3 separate regions of the Homo sapiens genome follow, and regions 2 and 3 are each linked to region 1. Evidence: promoter capture Hi-C in 16 types of primary human blood cells and fetal thymus (Javierre and others, 2016). All regions are on one chromosome and are shown on one strand. The core of a region is centred on a gene start or on the middle of the fragment in contact, and the rest is flanking DNA. Distances in the headings are between cores, read along the strand shown. Region 1 holds the start of DNM2 (dynamin 2). Region 2 overlaps DNM2 (dynamin 2). Region 3 holds the start of MIR6793 (microRNA 6793).

What was found. Contacts are between HindIII fragments. The CHiCAGO score rates a contact against its expected background, and 5 or more counts as called.
Region 2: a fragment that was not itself captured here is called in contact with the fragment with the promoter of DNM2 in region 1 in 1 of 17 cell types (neutrophils); the score reaches 6.7 in neutrophils.
Region 3: a fragment that was not itself captured here is called in contact with the fragment with the promoter of DNM2 in region 1 in 1 of 17 cell types (neutrophils); the score reaches 5.5 in neutrophils.

What each region holds. Positions count from the first base shown.
Region 1 is chr19:10,716,692-10,720,450 of GRCh38, reverse strand. DNM2 (dynamin 2) reads right to left here and starts at 2,372. Exons shown (of 21, transcript NM_001005361.3): 1 at 2,048-2,372. The coding sequence starts at 2,208. It overlaps MIR638 (microRNA 638), which reads right to left and starts at 2,047; the gene lies at 1,948-2,047. RefSeq lists enhancers at 1,214-1,353, 2,794-2,913, 3,104-3,293 and a silencer at 1,844-2,513. The HindIII fragment of the contact is 21,985 bases long and covers 1-3,759 here.
Region 2 is chr19:10,810,348-10,814,336 of GRCh38, reverse strand. It overlaps DNM2 (dynamin 2), which reads right to left. Exons shown (of 21, transcript NM_001005361.3): 15 at 1,960-2,073. Among named protein-coding and RNA genes, the nearest start is that of MIR199A1, 5.2 kb to the left of the region's middle. RefSeq lists an enhancer at 1,722-2,654. The HindIII fragment of the contact is 7,280 bases long and covers 1-3,989 here.
Region 3 is chr19:10,828,624-10,832,513 of GRCh38, reverse strand. It overlaps DNM2 (dynamin 2), which reads right to left. Exons shown (of 21, transcript NM_001005361.3): 19 at 3,246-3,478; 20 at 2,136-2,387; 21 at 611-1,536. The coding sequence ends at 1,467. MIR6793 (microRNA 6793) reads right to left here and starts at 3,541; the gene lies at 3,479-3,541. TMED1 (transmembrane p24 trafficking protein 1) reads left to right here. Exons shown (of 4, transcript NM_006858.4): 4 at 1-447. The HindIII fragment of the contact is 6,850 bases long and covers 1-3,890 here.

The DNA.
Region 1 (3,759 bases), core at 1,123-3,622:
ACTTGAGGTAAGTAGTTTGAGACCAGCCTGGCCAACATGGTGAAACCCCGTCTCTACTAAAAATACAAAAATTAGTTGGGCTTGGTGGTAGACGCCTGTAATCCCAGCTACTCGGGAGGCTGAGGCAGAAGAATGGCCTGAACCTGGGAGGCAGAGGTTGCAGTGAGCCAAGATTGCTCCACTGCACTCCAGACTGGATGACAGAGGGAGACTCTGTCTCAAAAAAAAAAAAAATAAATAAATAAATAAAATAAAATAAACTTGTTTAGGAGAGTCAACCAAGACTTAGAGAGGCCAAGACAACCTGTGCAAGGTCACAAGGCAAGTGAAAGAGACAGAGCTTTGCAAACACCCCCCACCCCCGTCCCAGAAGCCTGGGCAGGCAGGAAGATGGTCACTCAAAGGGGCCCACACCACAGTCCAGCCTGAGATCAGGCCAGGCCCAGCTGGCTGCAAGTCCACACCTTTCCACCACGGTAGACAGAAGGCAATGAGCTAGAGACAAGGTAGCAAAAGAGGAGATTTGTGCTGCTTGGAGCAAAGCCCCAAGGCTCTGGGATGGCAGACACAAGGCCTTACGCCAGCCTAGTGGCCTTGGGTGATCACAGTCCCTTCTGAGCCTCCCAGCTCAGCTAAGGTGGGGATGATAACACAGCCTCCACCCCACTCCTTACTTGGGATTCAAGATGTTGAATCAAGAAGGGACATTATCCCTTGACAATGATAACAACAATAACAATGACAATAATGACAGGAGGAGGATGTTATCATTTGGCAGCCACACCACCACAAATGAGTAGTTCCTGGAATGGAGAAGTGGCCGCCCATCTGGGAGACAAGAAAGGCAAGAGGGGTTGGTGGGAGGGAGAGGTGGCTGCACGGGCTGTTCTCATTCATTTGCTTCCTGAATCCTGGAAACAGCCCCAGAGAGTGGAGTTTGCCCACTGGACAGATGGGCACACCGCGGCTTCTCAAGGCTGTCCAGAGAAGGCTACATCCCAGCGCTAGCCACTGAGGCCTGATCACGCAAGAAGCCCCTTCCCAGGCTCCAAAGGAGGGCCCCCAATTTGTAGGCTGTAGCTGGGAGGCGGGCCCCTGTGTTCTAGCACTCGGAAAGGAATCCTGAAGTAAGGTACCCCCAGAGTCCTCCTTCCAGCTGAGAGGGGAAGTAGGGTCCAAACCTCCTCCTTCAGCTCTGTTCTCCCCTCTACCCTCCTACCACCCCTTTCCAGAGCCGTTGTGCCAGACACTCAGGGGTAGTCATGGGCAGACTAGGAGATGGCCAGACAGACAGAAGAATTCACACGGAAGAGAGGAGCCAGCGCTAGCCAGGAATCAAGCTGTAAGAGTCAGCCAGAGAGAATCAAACAGGGTCCCCTAGGAGTCAGCTAGCCAGTCAGACAGTAGAGGCCAGCTGGTGTCACCCAACAGAGGGACTGCTCAGTGTTAAAGTCTGTGAGGGGCACGGATGGGCGGCCAGACAGCAGAGGTCACCCTGGACAGCTAGCCAGACAGCAGGGGGCTGCCAGGTGGGACTGGACAGATGGACAACCAAATGGTGGTGGCAGGGAGGCTTGCCCAGGACAGAGAGACAGCCAACCAGACGGCGGGGGCAGCTCCAGATACAAGAACAAGCCAGCCAGACCGCAGCGGTCGCCCCAATAGATATCTAGATGGCCGGTTTCACCTCTGATGGACAGCCCGAAAGAGCAGAAGAGGGATCTACCCCAGACCCACGGCCAACCAGATGGCAGACTTCACCCACGAAAGCTGGGACCAGATGGACCGCAGGGTTCCAGCGCACCTCCTGTCCTACGGCGCCCTGGCCCGTGACACCGCCCCTGGGGCCCGGGCCTGCTCCGGAGCCCCTGCAGGGAGTCCTCTGCCCAGGGCGTCCCACAGGGCCCGCCTCCCCGACCCCGTCCGGTTCCCCGCCGCGGGCACGCAAGCGCCGCAGTTACGCCGGCGGCGCACGGCGCGCCATTCCCGGTCCGCCCTCCGCGCCCTAGGCCGCCACCCGCCCGCGATCCCTGCCGCGCCCGCTCACCGGCCCACGAAGTTCTCCAGCACCGAGCTCTTGCCGGCGCTCTGGCCGCCCACTACAGCGATCTGCGGCAGGTCCAGGTGGCAGCTCTGGCCGATGGAGCTGAAGGCGTCCTGCAGTTTGTTGACCAGCGGGATCAGCTCTTCCATCCCGCGGTTGCCCATGGCGCCGGCGGCCCCCGGCCCGAGCGCCCTGCGCTCCTCGCCCGCCGCCGACCCTCAACGACCTGGCCCCGCGGCGTCTGTAGCCGTTGCTCCCCGCCCGCCCGGGCCTCGGCAAGACGCCCGCTCCCGGCTCGGCCTCACGGTCGCCGCCTCATCCGGTTCTCAGGCGACACCCGACCCGAGCGACCTCCCGCCCCGGCCCCGGGGGCTGCGCCCAAAGCACTCGCGCCGCACGCGACTGGCCTGCTGCACCGCCACTCGGATACACTAGCCAATAAAAACTAGGCACGGGCCTATGGTTGAGTAAACCTTCCCCCTGGGGACCGTCTTGCTGACTTATTGGACAAAAGAACCGTCACTGTTGTGCAACAGCCAATAGCGGCAGAAAGCAAGTTGTCAAGAGAGGAAGGGGGTGTTTCCGAAAAAGGCACGTTGGCTCTGCCCATTGGCGAAGTTCCACCATCTTATTGGCAGGCAGACGTGCCAGTAGACAATGTGGACCAATGGTGTTGGGGATTGAGCTACTACCTCGTTCCCTAAGAATTTCCCATTGGTTCATATAAATATCACTTCGTTGCTCCAGCCAACCAGGCAAAAGAGGGCGGGCTTTAACATCCGAATCTTGACTATCATTGAGAACCATATCTGTCAATCAGAAAAACTCCCGTTCTTCCTTGTGATTGTTGGATGTCTGCAACAGCCTTCTGAAGTATAGGATAGATCCCACCGTACTCGCTCAAGGGCGACACCTCGTGGTGGGATCCGATGTCTCGATTTTTGAGTTTCCTGGCACTGGGGAAAACTACAAGTCCCAGAGCGCATCTCAGTTCCCAGACTGCAAACCAGCTCTGGGAGCAGGGTCCCAATGCGCTCTGCAAATGGTAGAGGCCAAGTCATTGCTTCCTAGGGATAGAACGCAATAAAATCACTCCTCCACGCCTTTGCAAATGCTGTGCCCTTTCTGCTCACGCCCGATCTTGACGCCGCTAACACTCCAATGTTTTCCCCCACTTCTTCAACTTTAGCAGATCATGAATCTTTTTTCTTTTCTTTTTTTTGAGGCGGGGTACTCACTCTGTCACCCAGGCTGGAGTGCAGTAGCGCGATCTTGGCTCACTGCAACCTCCGCCTCCCCGGTTCAACCAATTCTCCTGCCTCAGCCTCCCGAATAGCTGGGATTACAAGTGTGAGCCACCACGCCCAGCTAATTTTGTATTTTTAGTAGACGGGGTTTCACCATATTGGCCAGGCTGGTCTCGAACGCCTGGCCTCAAGTGATCCGCCCGTCTTGGCCTCCCAAAGTGTTGGAATTACAGGTGTGAGCCACCGCGTCTAGCTAATGAATCTTCTTTTCTTAGAAACTGGGTCCTTACTCTGTTGCCCAGGCTGGGGTGCAGTAGTGCACTCATAGCTCAATTCAACAAGCACCTGGGCTCAAACGATCCTCCCGCCTCAGCGTCCCGAGTAGCTGGAACCACAGACGTGCGCAACTATGCCCAGCTAATTATTTTTATTTTATTTTTTATAGAGACAGGGTCTTGCTGTGTTGTC
Region 2 (3,989 bases), core at 305-2,804, 95 kb before region 1:
ATGCGCCACCACGCCAGATTAATTTTGTATTTTTAGTAGAGACGGGGTTTCTCCATGTTGGTCAGGCTGGTCTCGAACTCCCGACCTCAAGTGATCTGTCTGCCTTGGCCTCCCAAAGTGCTGGGATTAATGGCGTGAGCCACTGCGCCCAGCCTGTTTTTATTTTTGAGAGGGAGTCTCTCACTCTGTCGCCCAGGCTGGAGTTCAGTGGCACCATCTCGGCTCCCTGCAAACTCCACCTCCACCTCCCAGGTTCCGGTGATTCTCCTGCCTCAGCCCCCCAAGTAACTAGGATTACAAGCGTGCGCCACCACACCTGGCTAATTTTTGCATTTTTAGTAGAGAAGGGGCTTCACCGTTTGGCCAGGCTGGTCTTGAATACCTGACCCCAGGTGATCCACCCACCTCAGCCTCCCAGAGTGCTAAGATTACAGGCATGAGCCACTGTGCCCAGCCAACAATGCAACAACGTATTGTCTATTTCTTCTTCTTCTTCTTTTTTTTTTTTTTTGAGACAGTGTCTTGCTCTGTGGCCCAGGCTGGAGTGCAGTGGTGTGATCATAGCTCACCACAGCCTCCATCTCCTGGGCTCAAGTGACCCTCCCACCTCAGCCTCCTGAGTAGCTGGGACTACAGGTATGCACCACCATGCCCAGCTAATTTTTTTTGGGTTTTAATAGACACAGGGTAATGCTATGTTGCTCAAACTGGTCTTGAACCCCTGAACTCAGGCCATCCTCCCACCTCAGCCTCCCAAAGTGCTGGGATTATAGGCCTGAGGCACCGTGCCCAGCCTTGTGTATTTCAAAGTAGTCAGAAGAGAGGACCTGAACTGTTCTGAACACAGGAAAATGAGGAATACCAAAGTGACAGACACCACAAACACTCTGCCGTGATCATTACATACTCTGTACATCTAATAAAACATCACAGGGACCCCATAAATATGTCAAACATTATGTATCTTTTTCTACATAGGACCATCAGGAGGGATGCTGGGTCAGCATGGAGAGCAGAGGCCGGTTGGCAGTATCCTTGCTCAAGGCCTGCCCCCTCACTCGCAGTGAACGAGTCCCTCCCATGACTCAGCACTCAACACTGCTCCCTGCAGTCATCACCCAGGGGCCTCTCCACTTCCTTCCCATAATGACGAGCATGTGGGGATCGTTCTGCACACTGTGGCCAAGCACCGCACAGTGGGCAGGGACCATCCTAGACCACTTCGCAGATAGAAAAACTGAGGCCCAGAGAGGCAAGGGGCCTGACTGAGGTGTAAGTGATGGAACCCCGGTGCCCCTGGAGGCTGGCTGCATGCCTGAGCCCCTGACCCTTGGGCATGGCCCCTTCTCTTGAGCACGGGGCAGTCACAGTGGCACTGGAGGTCAGGGCCTGTTTCTAGCCTGCTAGTGACTCCATCACCCTCCATCTCCCTTTTGCACTCTAGGAGCTGGTCCCATGGGGGCCAGGTACAATGTAAGCCTTTTGGCACATGGTGGCTGCTCTCCAGCCCTGGGTTACGGTTGTTTTTTGTTTGTTTGTTTGTTTATTTTGAGATGGAGTCTCGCTCTCTCGCCCAGGCTGGAGTGCAGTGGCGCAATCTCGGCTCACTGCAACCTCCGCCTCCCGGGTTCAAACGATTCTCCTGCCTCAGCCTCCTGAGTAGCTGGGATTACAGGCGCGTGCCACCACTCCTGGCTAATTTTTGCAATTTTAGTAGAGACGGGGTTTCATCATGTTGGCCAGGCTGGTCTCAAACTCCCGACCTCGTGATCTACCTGCCTCGCCCTCCCAAAGTGCTGGGATTACAGGCGGGAGCCACCGTGCCCGGCGAGTTACAGTCCTAATGGTGACTCAGGGCAGAGTGGCGCAGTGACTGAGTTCTGCCCAGAGGGAGCGCCCACCCGCTCTTCCCTGGCTGCCCCACCTACCCCAGCAGCCCTGCTCCCGCCTGCCACTCACCTCCTCATCCTTGTACCAGGACAGTGACTCGGCAGTCAGCACAAACCAGTACTCCTTGGAGCCGCCTTTCATCAGGCTGATGTTGTTGATGGTCAGCCAGCCCCTGCGGATCACCTGGGGGAAAGCGCGCAGCTTAGCAGGGAACCTCGCTCCGTGCCCCAGCCATCCCCCAGCGCAGCAGCCTTGCCCACAGCTCAGTGGGAAGCCAGGGACCGCAATAGAGACACCTCCAGCCCCAAAGCCCAGGAAACCCAGTTCCACCCTGTCCCAAGCATTTCCAGCAGGAAACCAACATGAGGCGCCACCTGGGCAGGTGGGCGGACAGACAGACTCACTGGGCCAGGGGCTGATGGGGTATAGACTCACAGAGGCCTGATGGAAAGGGGCCCATGGGAGGAGTCCCTGGGGCTTGTGTGTGGGGCTGTGGCACATGAAATGTGACATCTGAGGAACTGCACTTGTTTGCGTGAGATAAGGTTCCAAGGGTAGCATCCACACAGAGGGCTAGGGTCAAAGGTGTGAGCCCAGGGGCCCTCCCCAAGGACATTGAAGGAGCGCGGCTCATGTCCCAAGCTGGCTGCAAGCCTGGTGGTCATCCTTTTGACTGACACATCAGGGTTTCAGGCTGGGAGACCCCATGGATGGGGATTGTGTGGCTGTAGCTGTCATCTGCGTGGGGGTCAGAACCCAGGCCTGCGCAGGGACTCACCTGACAACTAACGGCAGGCAGCCTGGGGGCTGTGCTCCCATGCTCCCTGGCCGCTGGAGGCATGTGTGGGCAGAGCCCCCCACCCCACTCAGGACGAGGGCCCTGGGAGCTGCAGGAAGCACACGGAGGCACGCACAGGGCGGCCTGGGACCCAGGCACTGACAGACTTGGCCAAGCTACAAAGGGTGGGCTGAGCATGGCCATGGACAGCTGCGAAGGGCTGGCCTGCATCCCCCAGTGCAGGGCATGGCAGGGCACGGCACGGCAGGAGCGCCAGAGATGGGGCCTCCAGGAATCCCTCTGGGGCCCAGATGCTGTCCTAGTCGGGGGCGGTCCTCTGGAGGGGCTTCATCCGGACTACCCCGACCCACCCCGGGCCTGACATTCTGAACCAGGGCCACCAGCCCACAGCTCCAGCGGCTCCTTGGTGGCTGGATGTGAGTGCTAAGCCCCAGGTGGCCATGAAGACGGAGGTGGCTAAAGAGTACCCAGGGACCCCTGGACCATGCAGAAGTCACTGCCCAGGCTGGGGACAGCATGAGATGCCACCGGGCGCCCCTTGTTAAGGCCAAGGGTACAGACTTATCCCTCCCTGGGATGAGCAGACAGGACTCTCACAGTTGTTTGGAGCAGGCAGTGACCCCTGGCATCTGGCCATTCACGGGCTGCCTGGTGGTGGGTGAGGGGGCTGAGGCCAGCAGCCCCTGTGAGGTCACAGCATCCCCTCTGGGAACGCAGTGACGAGCTCTTCCTGGTCTGTCCAGGACGTCCTGGTGTTAGCACCAAAGGTCTGGCAGTCTGGGAATGCCTCCATTCACCCGGGGGGAGCGGGGTGGGGGCACTGCCTTGTCTCAGCCCAGAGCTGGGCACAGAACGAGTGCTTAGTAGACCCTGGTTCCATGACTGAATGACAACCAGGTGAGGGAAAACAGGGAGACAGGCTGTCGGTGCTCCCCCAGAGAAATGTGAGGCCTCCATACTCCTAGGCCTGGCCCGGTTTCTAAGGAGAGGGATGTGCCCGCACACCCCTCGGTGGCCTGGCTCTCCTGCCTCCAGCCGGGGTTAGTGTTGGTCAGAGCTGGAGCACAGGGCCCACGCTACACTTTGGGGTGCATGGCCACAGGGCCAGGGCACTGATCGGGGCCATGCTGGGGATGGCACACCAAGCCTTGGGGCAGGACGTCTGGCAGAAGCCCTGAGGTGCCCTTCTCCACACGGGTTCAGAGACAAAATCCCACCCTAGGGAGCTGCAAGCTGTGGGTGGCAAACAAAGGCCCGTTAGCCATCCACCACTTGTGAGCCAGAGAAAGGGAGCAGCCAG
Region 3 (3,890 bases), core at 1,256-3,755, 110 kb before region 1:
TCTAGGCAGAAGCCTCCTATAACAAAGGGTGGTGTGGCCTGGGCATTGGAGTCAATAAATTATGGTCAGAAAATCACAAGAGCCTGCTGATTGGGGCTCAGGGACACCAGCCAGGACAGACCGGCCCCCGAGGGGGCAGCCAGACAGGTGGGAGGGGCCTCCCACGAAGCTCAGAAGAAAGGTCGTGCGGGAGCCGATGGAGGTGGTCGCCTGGCACAAGAGAAAAATCAGAAAGCAAAGTTTAACTGAGCCCCAGTTGGGCCACGAGGCTTGGGCTTCCCCACGAGGTGAGAGAAGCAGGGCCTGAGGGTAGGAAGGGGGTGGAGCGCTGGGGTCCCCGCTTCACCAGGCAGCAGCCAGGCCTGTGCACGTGGGGGTGTGCAGGGGGTCAGAGAATATCTGCTCCCACTCCTCACATGCTAAGGAAAGTAAAAGCTCTCCCCTGTATCGAGTGGCTTCCTCTGAAAGGTGACACCCCCGAAAGCAGAGCCCTCAGGGAGATGGGAGGCACTTATGAGTGCAGGGACTTGGGCATCCTTATGGGAGGCCTGATGGAGGTGGCACCCATGTCCCCAGCCTGAACACTAACACAAGAGGCCCACACAGCAGCCACCAGCAGCGTCTTCCCTTTATTTTAGTTTATTAATAGAATACAGAGTGCAGGCACTTACAGTGGTCAAACTGAGCGAGGAGTGGGTGAGGTCTCCTCAGAGAGAGGCCGCCCTGGGCCCACCCATCAGGGAGGCATGGGCGGGAGCTGAGAGGCCCCCAAGACCCCCCGCCACCACCACCCACATAGCCCAAGCCCAGCCACCCTGGGGGACCCAGGAGGAGGAGGAGGAGAGGAATAGGGCAAGGCCGGCCCGGGCCAACGGCTCCGGGCCTAGCAAAGGCACCTCTGGCAGCCGAGGCTGGGCCAGGCTCAGGCTGTGTGGTTAATATGGCCGGGAAGGACTATGTACACCTCAGGCCTGCCAGCTGGGCACTACCGAGCCCACTGGGCCAGGCTTGCCGCTGGGGAGCTCCTGCTAATGGGAAGTTGATATACCCCTGCACCCCAGCAAGGCCTGGGGATGTAGGCGCCCTTGGTGCCCGCACTTATAGAAGGCCTGCCCTACATGGGCTTTCCCAGCCCAAGAAGACCTTGGTAGAGTCCCCCCCAGGCTGGACCCCTCATTCAGGATGGTGTCAAGGGTTCTGGTCCCCCCTCTGCCACCCTGAGACTCCATCCCCCAAAGTGCAACACCCCAGCGCCCCCTGCCTGGAGCTCCAGGGCCCCTTTGCGCAGTGCGGTGTCCAGCCAGGCACAGGGGCCGGCCCTGGACCGGGGCCAGCGTTAAGGAAGAGGCCAGGGCTGCCCACTGGGAGCCTGGTCCCAGCATAGGGGCGGCGGAGGGCCCCAGACCACTGAAGCTCCTGCGCCGCGGGTGCGTGAGGCCCCCCCGAGAGCACGCCCCCCTCGAGGCCTAGTCGAGCAGGGATGGCTCGGCTGGGCGGATAATGGTGGGCCGGCTGGGCGCAGCAGGGGGTCTTCTGCTGCAAAGAGAATAAAGACAGGTGGGGAGGGGGAGACGGCAGTGAGGCCGGGAGCAAGAGGCAGGCCTGGGTTGAGGACCCAGCCCCCACCCACACACCACCCCAGGGTGTTCCCAGGCTGACCTCCGCAAGCCACCAGGGTGTCGGGCAGGAGTGCCAAACCTAGGCATCAACTCGCCTGCTGTTTGACCCTCAGTGAGCCCCCTGCCCTCCCTGGGCCTCAGCTTCCCCACCGGAGAAGTGGGGAGAATAAAGCCTGGCCCACGGTAGGTTGAGGCAGGCAGGAGCAGGAAGGAGAAGAAGGTAAACAGTGGGAGGAGGTGCCCAGTGTGAGGGTTCCCCAGCTGCCTGGTGGCACACCCCAGTAGGCAGAGGGCAAGCTGGGAGCCCCGGAGTCACCAGGGCTCCGCTACTCTGTGACACTGAACAAGCCTCTTGGCCTCTCTGGGCCTGTTTCCTCGCAAGCCAAATAGGGATGAGGACGATTCCTCCACTCCAGCAGCTGGGCACGTAGTGAGAGCTCACTGGGAGGAAGTGAGACAGGAGGAGAGACCCCAGGGTGCAGGCAGTTGGGGTGGAGGGCAGGGGGTTGGCCTTACCTGGGCACTCCTGGGGGAATCCCTGGGGGGATCCGAACTGGCCGAGATGGGATCTGAGGCGGGGCTGGGAAGAGGTCACTGTTGGCAAACACGCTCTGGGGTCCAGGCCGGGATGGGATTGGGGGCGCCGAGAAGGAGGCTGCTGCCCCCACGGGAACAGGAATCAGGGGGGGCCCTGGAGTGGGGCCCCTCACTGCTGGGGGCCGGCCAGGGGGGTGTATGCTGGACACCGGTCGGCGCTGTGGAGTGGGGCTGTGAGGAAGGAGAGGGTGTGAGCTACAGATACAGATGGAGTAGGAGCCCCCGCCATGCCACTGTGGCTGCCAGAACCTGAGGTGGGGGCTGGCTATGGGGACAGCGCAGGCGCAGTGGGATCCTCCCACCCCAACCTGAGCGCCAGTCCCACCTTCCCTTGCCCTCGGCCCCCTCAGGCACTTCCCACTCACAGGGCCCCCTCAGGCCTTGGGCCTGGGATCCACCCTCACAGCCAAAGACACTTCCAGAGTCCTCCAGATCAAGCCCTAATATCTCTAGGGGCCGTGGAACCTGCAAGCCCTGTCCAGACATCCAGATTCCCTCCTGGGCCTCAGTCCCTGCCACCTGCAGGCCTGGGTGCGATATCCTCCCCTTAAGGAACTCCATGGCTCCCCCAGGGCTCTGCAAGGCAGCCCCCTCTGAGGTTCCCTGCCCGACGGCCTCAATGGACAACTCAGGGGCGGCAGCAGCTCTGGCCACGCCTTGCGTTTGCCCCTCCAGAGCCTCCCATCTGCCCTTCTCTGTGCTCCAGGAGGCTCATCTCTCTCCTGTGGCTGCTGCCCCTCCAGCCTCTTACCCCAGCTTCCATTTGGGCTGTGCCAATGGAAGGCACCAGCAGAGGGCAGGCGGGGTATTTATTCACAGGGTCCTGCCCTAGAGCTGTAGGGCTGGCTCGCCCCCATACCCCTTCTCTCCCTCCTCCGGCCTCAGCAGGGCAGCAGCTCCCACAGTGCCCAGCCCTGGGTGCCACCCTTGGGCTGTGTCCTGTTTCCTGCCAGGACCCTGCAGGACACACAGGGAGGGCAGGAACCTGCAGGCCGAATGCTTGAGGGTAGGGGAACCAGGCTTCCGGACCTGTGGCTGCTGGCGCTCTGGAGCCAGGTGTCATCGACAGGCGGGGGTACAGGCGTGGACACAGTGCTGGTGCTGATGTCACCGATGATGTTGAGCGCCTCCTTGAGGGCATGGTACATGCGCAGCATGTCGTCCCGCCGCTGTGCCTGGTCAGCCGACTCCTCCATGAGGCTGCTCTGGTCTGCCGAGGAGTATAGGTAGGCCAGCAGCTCGTGGTGGATGAAGGCCTTCGTCTGCGGGCAGGGGTTGGGGAGGGTCAGGCTTGTGTATCACCCCAACCCAGAACCCACAGTGACTGCTGGAAAAACATCTCTCACAGGGCGGGGCCACCCCCAGACTTTTTTGAAAAAGAGTCTTGCTCTGTCACCCAGGCTGGAGTACAGTGGCTCAATTTCAGCTCACTGCAACCTCCGCCTCCCGGGTTCAAGTAATTATCCTGCCTCAGCCTCCCAAGTAGCTAGGACGACAGGCACGTTGACACCATGCTTGGCTAAGTTTTGTAATTTTTTTAGAGATAGGGTTCCACCATGTGGCCCAGGCTGGTTATGAGATTCTTATTCAACTTATTTCTAGTATCTTGCCTCTTCCATTGATGTCTTTTCTCCTGTTTTAGCTTATTTATTTATTTCCTTAACCTTGGCAGAA